Regions from separate parts of the Homo sapiens genome. Here region 1 is linked to region 2. Evidence: promoter capture Hi-C in 16 types of primary human blood cells and fetal thymus (Javierre and others, 2016). All regions are on one chromosome and are shown on one strand. Each heading gives the region's core, a stretch centred on a gene start or on the middle of the fragment in contact. The rest is flanking DNA. Distances are from core to core; before and after follow the strand shown. Region 1 holds the start of VCP (valosin containing protein). Region 2 holds the start of TPM2 (tropomyosin 2).

Region 1 (4,471 bases), core at 265-2,764, 620 kb after region 2:
GACATCTCTGCCAAAGTCTTGTGACCTGTAGCTGCCACGTTTTGAAGAGCTTGAGCTGGGTCCCCAGTGGGCTGTCTCTCTGTGGGGAGGGCTTTCTGCTTCACCATCATTAGGAATGTGACCATTCCTATATAATTCCTGGACTGGTGAGATTGGTGGTAGGCCTGTGAAATTTGCCCTAGTTACTACCATTCTCGTTTTGGAGGAAACAATCTCTGCCACCACCAAGTCATTGACTTTGCTCGAGGCACCTTTTTTCCTGTTTCTCCTTTTCTGTTGTCGAGTAAAATTTCATATTTATCTCGTCTGCCTACTACATATACTTGCGTGGGAAGGCTTGTGACCGTCTAGTTGAGTGCTAGTTGTCTATGATGCCCTTTCCTGACATCGTCTACCTTATGAACTTGAAGTCTGGGTATGAGGAAAGGGCTACAGGAATCCTCACTTTGGAGGCAGTGGCTTTAGTCCTTCACATTGCCTGAATGCAGAGCCCCAAAGCCCAGGACAGTGACAATGAGTGGAGTTGGGTCTGAAGGGTGGTCTAGATAGGCCTCTCAGGACAAGGGCAGGTACCTGTTACTTAGAGACAGGCAGGTTTCTCTCAGAGTAACTCTTCACTCCCTTCCTAATTCCAAATTCTAGAAATTCGACTCGTCTTAGTCAAATGTGTCTGTGTGGGTACAGGGTGAAAGGTGAATTGAGTCAGCATATCACCAACAGCTGCCTGTTGACTACTAACAGGGACCCCTGTTATTTGGGGCCCAAGGATTTTCAAGTCCCAGCATATGCAGTTTTCTTGCTAATTTGGGTTCTACTGAATTGGCTGTGTGTTCTGTGGTTGCCCTTTGACTTCTCTGGATTTGAGTGCCTTATTATAAGGTATTAATATTAATGACGGGAGGAAGAAAGGCACAAGCGCTGAGAAACTGCAAAGGCTGTGGGATTGGGGTTACCAGAGGGTGCAGTGACAATGGGGTAGGAGTGGGGTGCTAGTCAGAAAGTTCAGAGTAGGGGTGGTTGGAGGCAGCGTTGAGAAGGAGCAAGAAGTGTCAGGGTGGTGATGGCGTCTTAGAAGATCTCCAGGTTTTGGGAGAAGATGGGTGTATGGGTTACCACAATAGGACTAGACTAATACAAGGGTTCAGTCTATTGTGCCACGTTCTTCCAGGAGGATAAACTCCGGAGCCAATGAACTGGAGCCAAGTGGGAGAGTCCGCCTCTAAGGGATTAAAGGGTCTCCTTTCACTAATCGATCTCGCCCTATTCCTTTCGTTGATTGGCTGAGAATTCCAATCCGTCGAGGAAGCGTAGCGTTGCGGCCAATTGACGTGGCGTTACTAGGCGTGTCGCATCACTGAGGCGGGAGCCAGGCCGCAAGCGAATTTCCTGATTGGCTGTGATCTGCGGGTTGCTGGGGAGAGGCGCGGAGAGGCGGGCGAGAGTCCGCAGGGCAGGCGCTGATTGGCTGAGGTGGGAGCAGCTTCCCTTCCGATGATTCGGCTCTTCTCGGCTCAGTCTCAGCGAAGCGTCTGCGACCGTCGTTTGAGTCGTCGCTGCCGCTGCCGCTGCCACTGCCACTGCCACCTCGCGGATCAGGAGCCAGCGTTGTTCGCCCGACGCCTCGCTGCCGGTGGGAGGAAGCGAGAGGGAAGCCGCTTGCGGGTTTGTCGCCGCTGCTCGCCCACCGCCTGGAAGAGCCGAGCCCCGGCCCAGTCGGTCGCTTGCCACCGCTCGTAGCCGTTACCCGCGGGCCGCCACAGCCGCCGGCCGGGAGAGGCGCGCGCCATGGCTTCTGGAGCCGAGTGAGTGTGCGCGCGCCGTTCGCTTGCTGCGGCGGCGCGCACCGGGACCAGCCGCGCAGGGTAGGCCCGGCGGGGCCTGGCCGTGGGCGCGTCAGAGAGGTGGAGACCAGGAAAGAGGGAAGGGAAGCTAGGGGGCGAGTGAGGGGCCGTGGACCCGGCAGGCCCGGCTGGGGCCAGCTGCGCACCCGCGCGCCCCCTAGGCGGGGCTTGCGTTGGGTCCGGGTCGGAGCCTGGGCCGGATCGTGCTGTGTCATGCAGGCCCCGGCCCGCCCGATTGGCTCCCTTAGAACGGACGTCTGGGCCTGGCCAGGTCTTCCGGCCCACTCCGCCGGCGCGGCGCCCCGGGGCTTTGGGGCGCCAGTCTGCCGTCCGGCCTACCACCCGCCGAAAGCCTTTGGTCCCCGGAGAGAGCAGGCCCCGCGAGCCCGAGGCCCCAGCCGGGCCCGGTGGGCGTGGACTTTGCGCCATGTGAAGGCCTCAGGAGCTCTGCCACCGAGGCGGAGCCCGGGGTCGGGGAAGGCCCGCCGAGCTCAGGGAAGCTCACAGCCGCCTTTTTGGAGCCGGGTCGGCGGGGCCGGAGGTGGGCATCCTCTGTGTGTGACCTGAGTCGTGAAGGACTGTTAGGGAGAGGGCGAGCCCTACCTTTCGCTTCTGGTCTTCTTACTTTAGGCCTGTTGTTCATACTAGAAAGTTTGAGCCAGTTTTCCTTAATGTTATGACTCGTGGGTGGGGAGAAAGGAATTTTTCTTTAACATTTTAGGTTCTTGCTAAAGTTGGAATCTCAGTTCGTGTTTTGTGCGCCTTTCCAGATTTCCAGGTTTCGTGGTGTGCAGTTTAGAGTTGCACTAACTCTTCAAAAACACAAACGTGCGCGCACTCCTTTCCCCAACCAGCTATATTGAGAAATTACCCGGGCTCTGGGGCTTTCTGACCCCACCTCCATCCTTAGGAAAGCGTTAGATAAAACTTGGCTACCTCAGCCCATTCAATTTAGAATAGAGAGCTTTTAGAGGCAAAAAAAAAAAAAAAAAAAAAAAAAAAAACACAGCCAGCCCAAGGAAACTCTATGCAAATTACCTTCCTTCCTTGAAGAGATTAGTTTTTTGAGGTGTGTTCCTTTTTCTCAAGTTTCTGAATTCGGATAAAGTATTACTCAGTTGCTTATTTAAAAGAGTCACTTATTCTGAAAGTATTCTTTTGGTTTATATGCAGTCAGCCTCTTATTTTCAAAAGTAAAAATCTAAAATTCTTGGAACCTGGCATCATCAGCTGTTTCTAACCTCTTGGTCACCTTGATGACTCTTAGCTGAAACCCTTCCAAGTCCCGTGGAGTCCCCTGTGCAGTTCTGGAAAGGGATTGACTTATACAGAAGACAATGGAGGATTGCCCCAAAGAGTGTCCAGAACTGCTGTTGGCCCATGGTCAGGCCAAATTCAGTCTTTTAGAGATTACCACATCTGATCTCAGTAGGTAGATGGGGAATTAGAGGCTTTACCTTAAGAAAAGGGCATACCACTCATCTCCAGAGCCAGAGTCCGGGATGGTAGGCAGAATGGAGGTTTTCCTAGGATACAGCTTTGAGATTAAAATACAAACTATTGACCGGGCACAGTGGCTCAGGCCTGTAATCCCAGCATTTTGGGAGGCCGAGGCAGGCAGATCACTTGAGGTCAGGAGTTTGAGACCAGCCCGGGCAACATGGAGAAACCCCATCTCTATTAAAATGCAAAAAGTAGCCAGGCATGGTGATGGTGCACACCTGTAGTCCCAGCCACTCTGGAGGCTGAGACAGGAGAATCACTTGAACCCAGGGAGGCAGAGATTGCAGTGAGGGAGATCGCGCCACTGCACTCCAGCCTGGGCAACAGAGGGAGACTCCGTTTCAAAAAATAAAAAACTATGGTGACTAGAGGCATCTGGCGTTTTATTTTTCTCCAGTCCCAGTTCTATAAGTCAAGCAAGAAGATGGGCAGTCCCTGGAAGAGTATTTTGATGGGACAGGAGTGGGAGAGCTCGTGGGTTTACATTGCTCTCAACTGTCACATTGAGCATGCTTGGCCTCTAGTGTGTTGATAAGCATTGGAAGAGTCTGCCTACTCAGCAGCATTGTGCCTGGAGTGGCAGACTTTTGGAATGGGGGAAGCAAATTTGAGCAGAGGAAACTGTCGTTAGAAACTAGTTTAGAGGCAGTGGTTAAAAATGCAGCCTATGTGTGAGGGTTAGCAGAAGGCCTACCATTTTGTTAGATGAATGGGGTTTGTTTTTCTCTTGGGTGTATCAGGACCCAAAGATGTAAGAACCCCATGGCTTCCTAGCTGAGCACAGCATTTTTCTTTGTCTCTTGCAAATTGTGAGGATATTTCCAATGGGAATACTATTTTGTCTTGTTTTGTTGACTTCAGTATCCCCAGCCCTTAGAACAATGCCTGGTACATAATAGAGACTCATGAATTTGTTGAATGAAGAAATTCGTTTTAAAAATTTATTTTCTTTGCTTCCTTCATTGTCTGGCCTTCCTACTTTGGTTAATGCTTATGTTTTCCTGAGCCTTACTAACACGAGGCCGCTCTTAAAAAAGAGAGAGCGCTGGGTGCTGTGGCTCACGCCTGTAATCCCAGTACTTTGGGAGGCCGAGGTGGGCAGATCACCTGAGGTCAGGAGTTCGAGA
Region 2 (4,379 bases), core at 1,163-3,662:
TCATGAAGTGCCAACTCTATGCCTGGTGCTGTGATAGGCCTTGGGGATTCAGAATTGAGAACAGTCGTTTCTGTTGAGGACTCACAGACCGGCGGAGGCGCCAAACCGGTATAAGAACAGTTATACCATGGGACTAGGATGAGGGTGAGAGCCCGCACCAAGAACACGCACCTATTAGGTGAGGCGGTGGGAAGAGAAGTGGCCAGGGAAGGCTTCCCAGAAAAGCTGACACTTACTGAGTCTTAAAGGCCACCAGGAATCAGCCAAGGGGATGGGCATTTTAGGGAGAGAGAACAGAATGCATAAACTGTGGAAGCTTTAAGAAAAGTATGGCTATTTCCAGCTCCTGCACGTAGCTCATTATGAATGCAGCATGAGGTACAAGTATGAATACTGGGGGTGAGGTTGGGCATGGAAGGAGATGAGGCCAGAGAGGCAGGCAACAGCCAAAACAACGGGCCTTCTATACCATATTAAGAAATGTGGATTTTTTTTTTCTCCTCAAAACAGGCAGGGTGCCCGCACGCCTGTAATCCCAGCTACTCAGGAGGCTGAGTCGGGAGGATCACTTAAGCCCATAAGTTCAAGACCAGCCTGGGCAATCTAGCAAGCTCCCGTCTCAAAAAAGGTGGGGGGACAGGGATTAGGGAGGGGTTTTGGAGAATTTTAGATAATATTCGCATTAACTTTTAAAAAGATATTTGACAACAATGTCATGGGACAGTCAAATGAATGAATGAGTTGAGGAACTAGAAGTAAGACTACAAAACAGACTGAAGAAAACATAAGGCGCGGCCAGAGGCCAGCCCAGACCGACCCGAGGAGGAACCTCCTTGGTAGAAGGCAGCCTCTCCAGGATTAGGTGGTTGTGAGACGCGAAGGGCAGGGGATACCCAGTGGTCTAGCATAGGCTACTGGTGGATGAGGCGTCTTCCACGGAGTTAGAGGAACACTGCGAGGTCAGGCCAGGGTTGCTCTCCGTGTGGCTAGCAGGCAGCTAAACAGATCTGAATGCATTTCCACGCCACCTCCCCACCGCCCCGGCCAGCGGCCTCGGGTTCCCACGGTCCCCAGCCCACTGCAAAATCCAGGCCTCCCGCCCCTCTATGACTGGAGGGTGGGGGCGAGGCTAGCAGCTCCCTCCCGGCTTCCTCCGCTTGTTCTCTCCTCCCCTTCCCCCTCCTCCCGGCGGCTCTCCACTTCCTTTCCCCCCACCCCACCCCAGGGAAAAACGAAAACAAACACCCTCGCGCCTCGCGCCTCCGACTCCCAGACCCCACGACCCGGCTCCGGCGCTGGTTTGGCGGCCTGGGTGGGAGAAGGCACCTCGCCCCGGACCCCCTATGCCCCGCAGCTCAGTGACTCTTCCCCTCGCCCTCCGCCTTCCCCGCCGCAGCCCGGCTCCGCCTCCCAATGGGGAAACATCCCAAAAAAGGGCAGAAAAGAAATTTCAGCATAAAGTTGGCCCACTGGGAAAGAGAGGAGCGTCCGCGGGGAGCGGGGGAGAAGAGGGAAGGCGCGCGGAGGGGAGTGGGGCCAGGCGGAGCCAGGGGCGGGGAGCGGAGGGGCTCGGGACGCGTCCGGGTGGGAGCGGGGGCGGGGAACGCGCGGTGACCAGCCTGGCCGCAGCCGCGTGGAAAATATGCGGGGCACGTGGGGGGCGGGGCGGGGAGCTGGGTCCTGAGCCGCCGGGTGCTCGCAGGAAGGGCCTGGCTCCAGGGGCAGGGGCTGGGAGGGGAGGCGAGGGGATGAGAGGTCAGGCCGGTCCTGGGGGCAGCAAGCCCGGCCACACTCCCCACCGCGACCGGGGCTCTGGGCTCGCTTCCTGCTTCAGTTTCCCCAAGCTCCCGATGAGACTCCGCTACTACCACCACGTCGATAACGCAAACCTAGAGGGACTCAGGGTAAACTGAGGCACTCAAACTGCCGAGGAGCTCCGCCTCCCGAGAGACATTTAATCCGGGGGGATTTGCAGGAAACTTCTAAATTAAGGGTAGCGGCTGCTGCAGCTGAGGGGGGGCACGCCGGTCCCTGCGCCCGGGCAGCTGCCGTGAGCTCACGCCCCGAAATAGCCCCAGGGGCCCCAGCCGCAGCTGCCACTGGGTCCGGCTGTCACTCAGAGGAAGCACGGAGCCCCCAGCCCAAGGGTCCCCTCCCCTTCGCATCGCCGGGGTTTTTCCAGCCGACCGTCGGCCACTTTTTCCTCCGACGGCTGGCAGGGAAGAGGGGGATGGGGGCGGGACCCCAAGGGAGGCGGTCCCCAGTGGGTGGGCGAAGGGGGCGGCCGCACCCCCCGGCCGGGCCGTGCTTCTGCCCCTACAAGGTTTGGGCCGAGGTGGGGGAGGGTCCTGGTTGCCGGCCCCGCCCGGTCCCTCCCCGCCTTTTAGGCGCCCGCGTGGCCGGGACGTCCCAGTCCCGCTCCGTCCTCCTCGCCTGCCACCGGTGCACCCAGTCCGCTCACCCAGCCCAGTCCGTCCGGTCCTCACCGCCTGCCGGCCGGCCCACCCCCCACCGCAGCCATGGACGCCATCAAGAAGAAGATGCAGATGCTGAAGCTGGACAAGGAGAACGCCATCGACCGCGCCGAGCAGGCCGAAGCCGACAAGAAGCAAGCTGAGGACCGCTGCAAGCAGGTTAGGGCCGGGCCCAGTGCAGCCTGCTCTCCCCGCGCCTAGGGCAAGGGTGGGCCGCTGCCATGGGTCCCCCAGCCCCGGGCCTGCCCGCCAAGGCTCTCTCTCACCCAGGGTGGGGGCTGGGCCTTCGCAGTACCCTCAGGGCCTTCGCCAGAGCCGCTTCTCTCCCCTACAATAGCCTGGGGAAGCCCCAGGCCCCTGGTTTCCACTCTGCCTTTGCAGAGCGCGGTTGGTCCTGCTCCTTGGGGCCTGAAGTTTTCTCTGTACCCTCAACGGGTCCCACCAGTACCCTTGACTGTACTGTCCCTTTTATGTTATTCCGCTTCCATCCCAGTAGCCTCCAAATCTTAGTAGCGCCCCTACACACACCGCGTCTCCATTCTGGGCCTGGGCCCCCTCCCAGCCTGGCTGACCAAGTCCCCTCTGTCCCAGCTGGAGGAGGAGCAGCAGGCCCTCCAGAAGAAGCTGAAGGGGACAGAGGATGAGGTGGAAAAGTATTCTGAATCCGTGAAGGAGGCCCAGGAGAAACTGGAGCAGGCCGAGAAGAAGGCCACTGATGTGAGTGTGGACTTGGGGGACAATGGGAGGAGTTAGGGCTCTGGGAAGGGGCCCCCCGGGTATGGGAATAAGAGGATTGGGGCACCTTATCCCCTTATGTCCCCAGCGCCAGGAGAGAAATGGTTTCATCTCAGTAACCAGGGCTAGGGTAAACTTACACAAGTAATCCAAGACAGTGGATAAATCAAAACCACCTACCACTTCCCCCAGAGGACTTAGCCCTGTAATTCTGTTTGGTTCCAGCTTTTAGAATGTACAGTGATCAAGCAATGAGTCATTGTGGGGGTGGAAGGTATAAGAATTTACCATCTACCTCAATTAATCCTCCAGCTGAAATTGGAGAGGAGACTGCAGCCGTTTGGGGATGGGGGGATGTGGATGTGAGGTACTAGCCTGCAGGAGGAGGGAGAGGGATCCAGAGATGAGACCCCACTTGAGTTACAACCCTAAGGGGCCATTAGAAATTCCCTGGCCTTGACCTCTGGCTTCAGCAGCCCTGCTGTGCCCTGGGGCCCCAGCTCAGGTTCTAATGGCTCCTCATTTACCCTCATTAAGCTGTCAGCCTGGAGACCATGCCAGGCCACAGGGCAGAGGGACAGGGCCACAAATGCCAAAGCAGCTACCTTGGCAGGTCATTTACCCTGAGATTTCTCTGCCCACCCCACAACCCCAACCAGACTTCACTTCCTGCCATTCCCAACCCCCAGCTTAAGGTAGGAGAATGGCCATATGGCTTTGGTGTGGTGGTAGTTTCCCCATTCTCTGCCTCAGTTTCCCCATCTTCCTTCCACCCAGGATTGTTTTAAGATGAACCTATGGTTAGATTAGCATAAAGCATGGTCTGAACATCAGAGATGACATAGCTGTTTGTGTCGACTGCTCATGTTCCCAGCCCCCCAGGGGTTGGGCTTCTGTGACCTCCAGCCTCCAGTTTTGGTTCTCCACCAGTCCTGGCACTTGGGAGGGAGCTGACCTGCAGCTGCTAGCACAGACAACCCTGGGCATCTGACACTCTATAAATAACCAAGGCCCAGTGCAGCTGGAGGCAAGATTGGAAACCCAAGTTGCTGGTGGGGGCTGGAGGGGCAGGGGGGACAGGGACAGAGCTGGGGAGGCAGAGCCGCAGCACCAGGAGCAGATAGGAAAGACTGCCCAAGCTTCCTGGTGACCTTGAACACAGCACTCAAC

Evidence for each region. Contacts are between HindIII fragments. The CHiCAGO score rates a contact against its expected background, and 5 or more counts as called.
Region 1: a contact is called between the fragment with the promoter of VCP here and the fragment with the promoter of TPM2 in region 2, in 1 of 17 cell types (monocytes). The highest score is 5.0, in monocytes.

What each region holds. Positions count from the first base shown.
Region 1 is chr9:35,069,668-35,074,138 of GRCh38, reverse strand. VCP (valosin containing protein) reads left to right here and starts at 1,514. Exons shown (of 17, transcript NM_007126.5): 1 at 1,514-1,802. The coding sequence starts at 1,786. FANCG (FA complementation group G) reads left to right here. Exons shown (of 14, transcript NM_004629.2): 14 at 1-300. The coding sequence ends at 31. RefSeq lists enhancers at 947-996, 1,017-1,156, 1,357-1,406 and a silencer at 1,807-2,436. The HindIII fragment of the contact is 17,727 bases long and covers 1-4,471 here.
Region 2 is chr9:35,687,958-35,692,336 of GRCh38, reverse strand. It overlaps TPM2 (tropomyosin 2), which reads left to right and starts at 2,412. Exons shown (of 9, transcript NM_003289.4): 1 at 2,412-2,633; 2 at 3,066-3,191. The coding sequence starts at 2,520. RefSeq lists a silencer at 995-1,074 and an enhancer at 3,970-4,379. The HindIII fragment of the contact is 4,032 bases long and covers 319-4,350 here.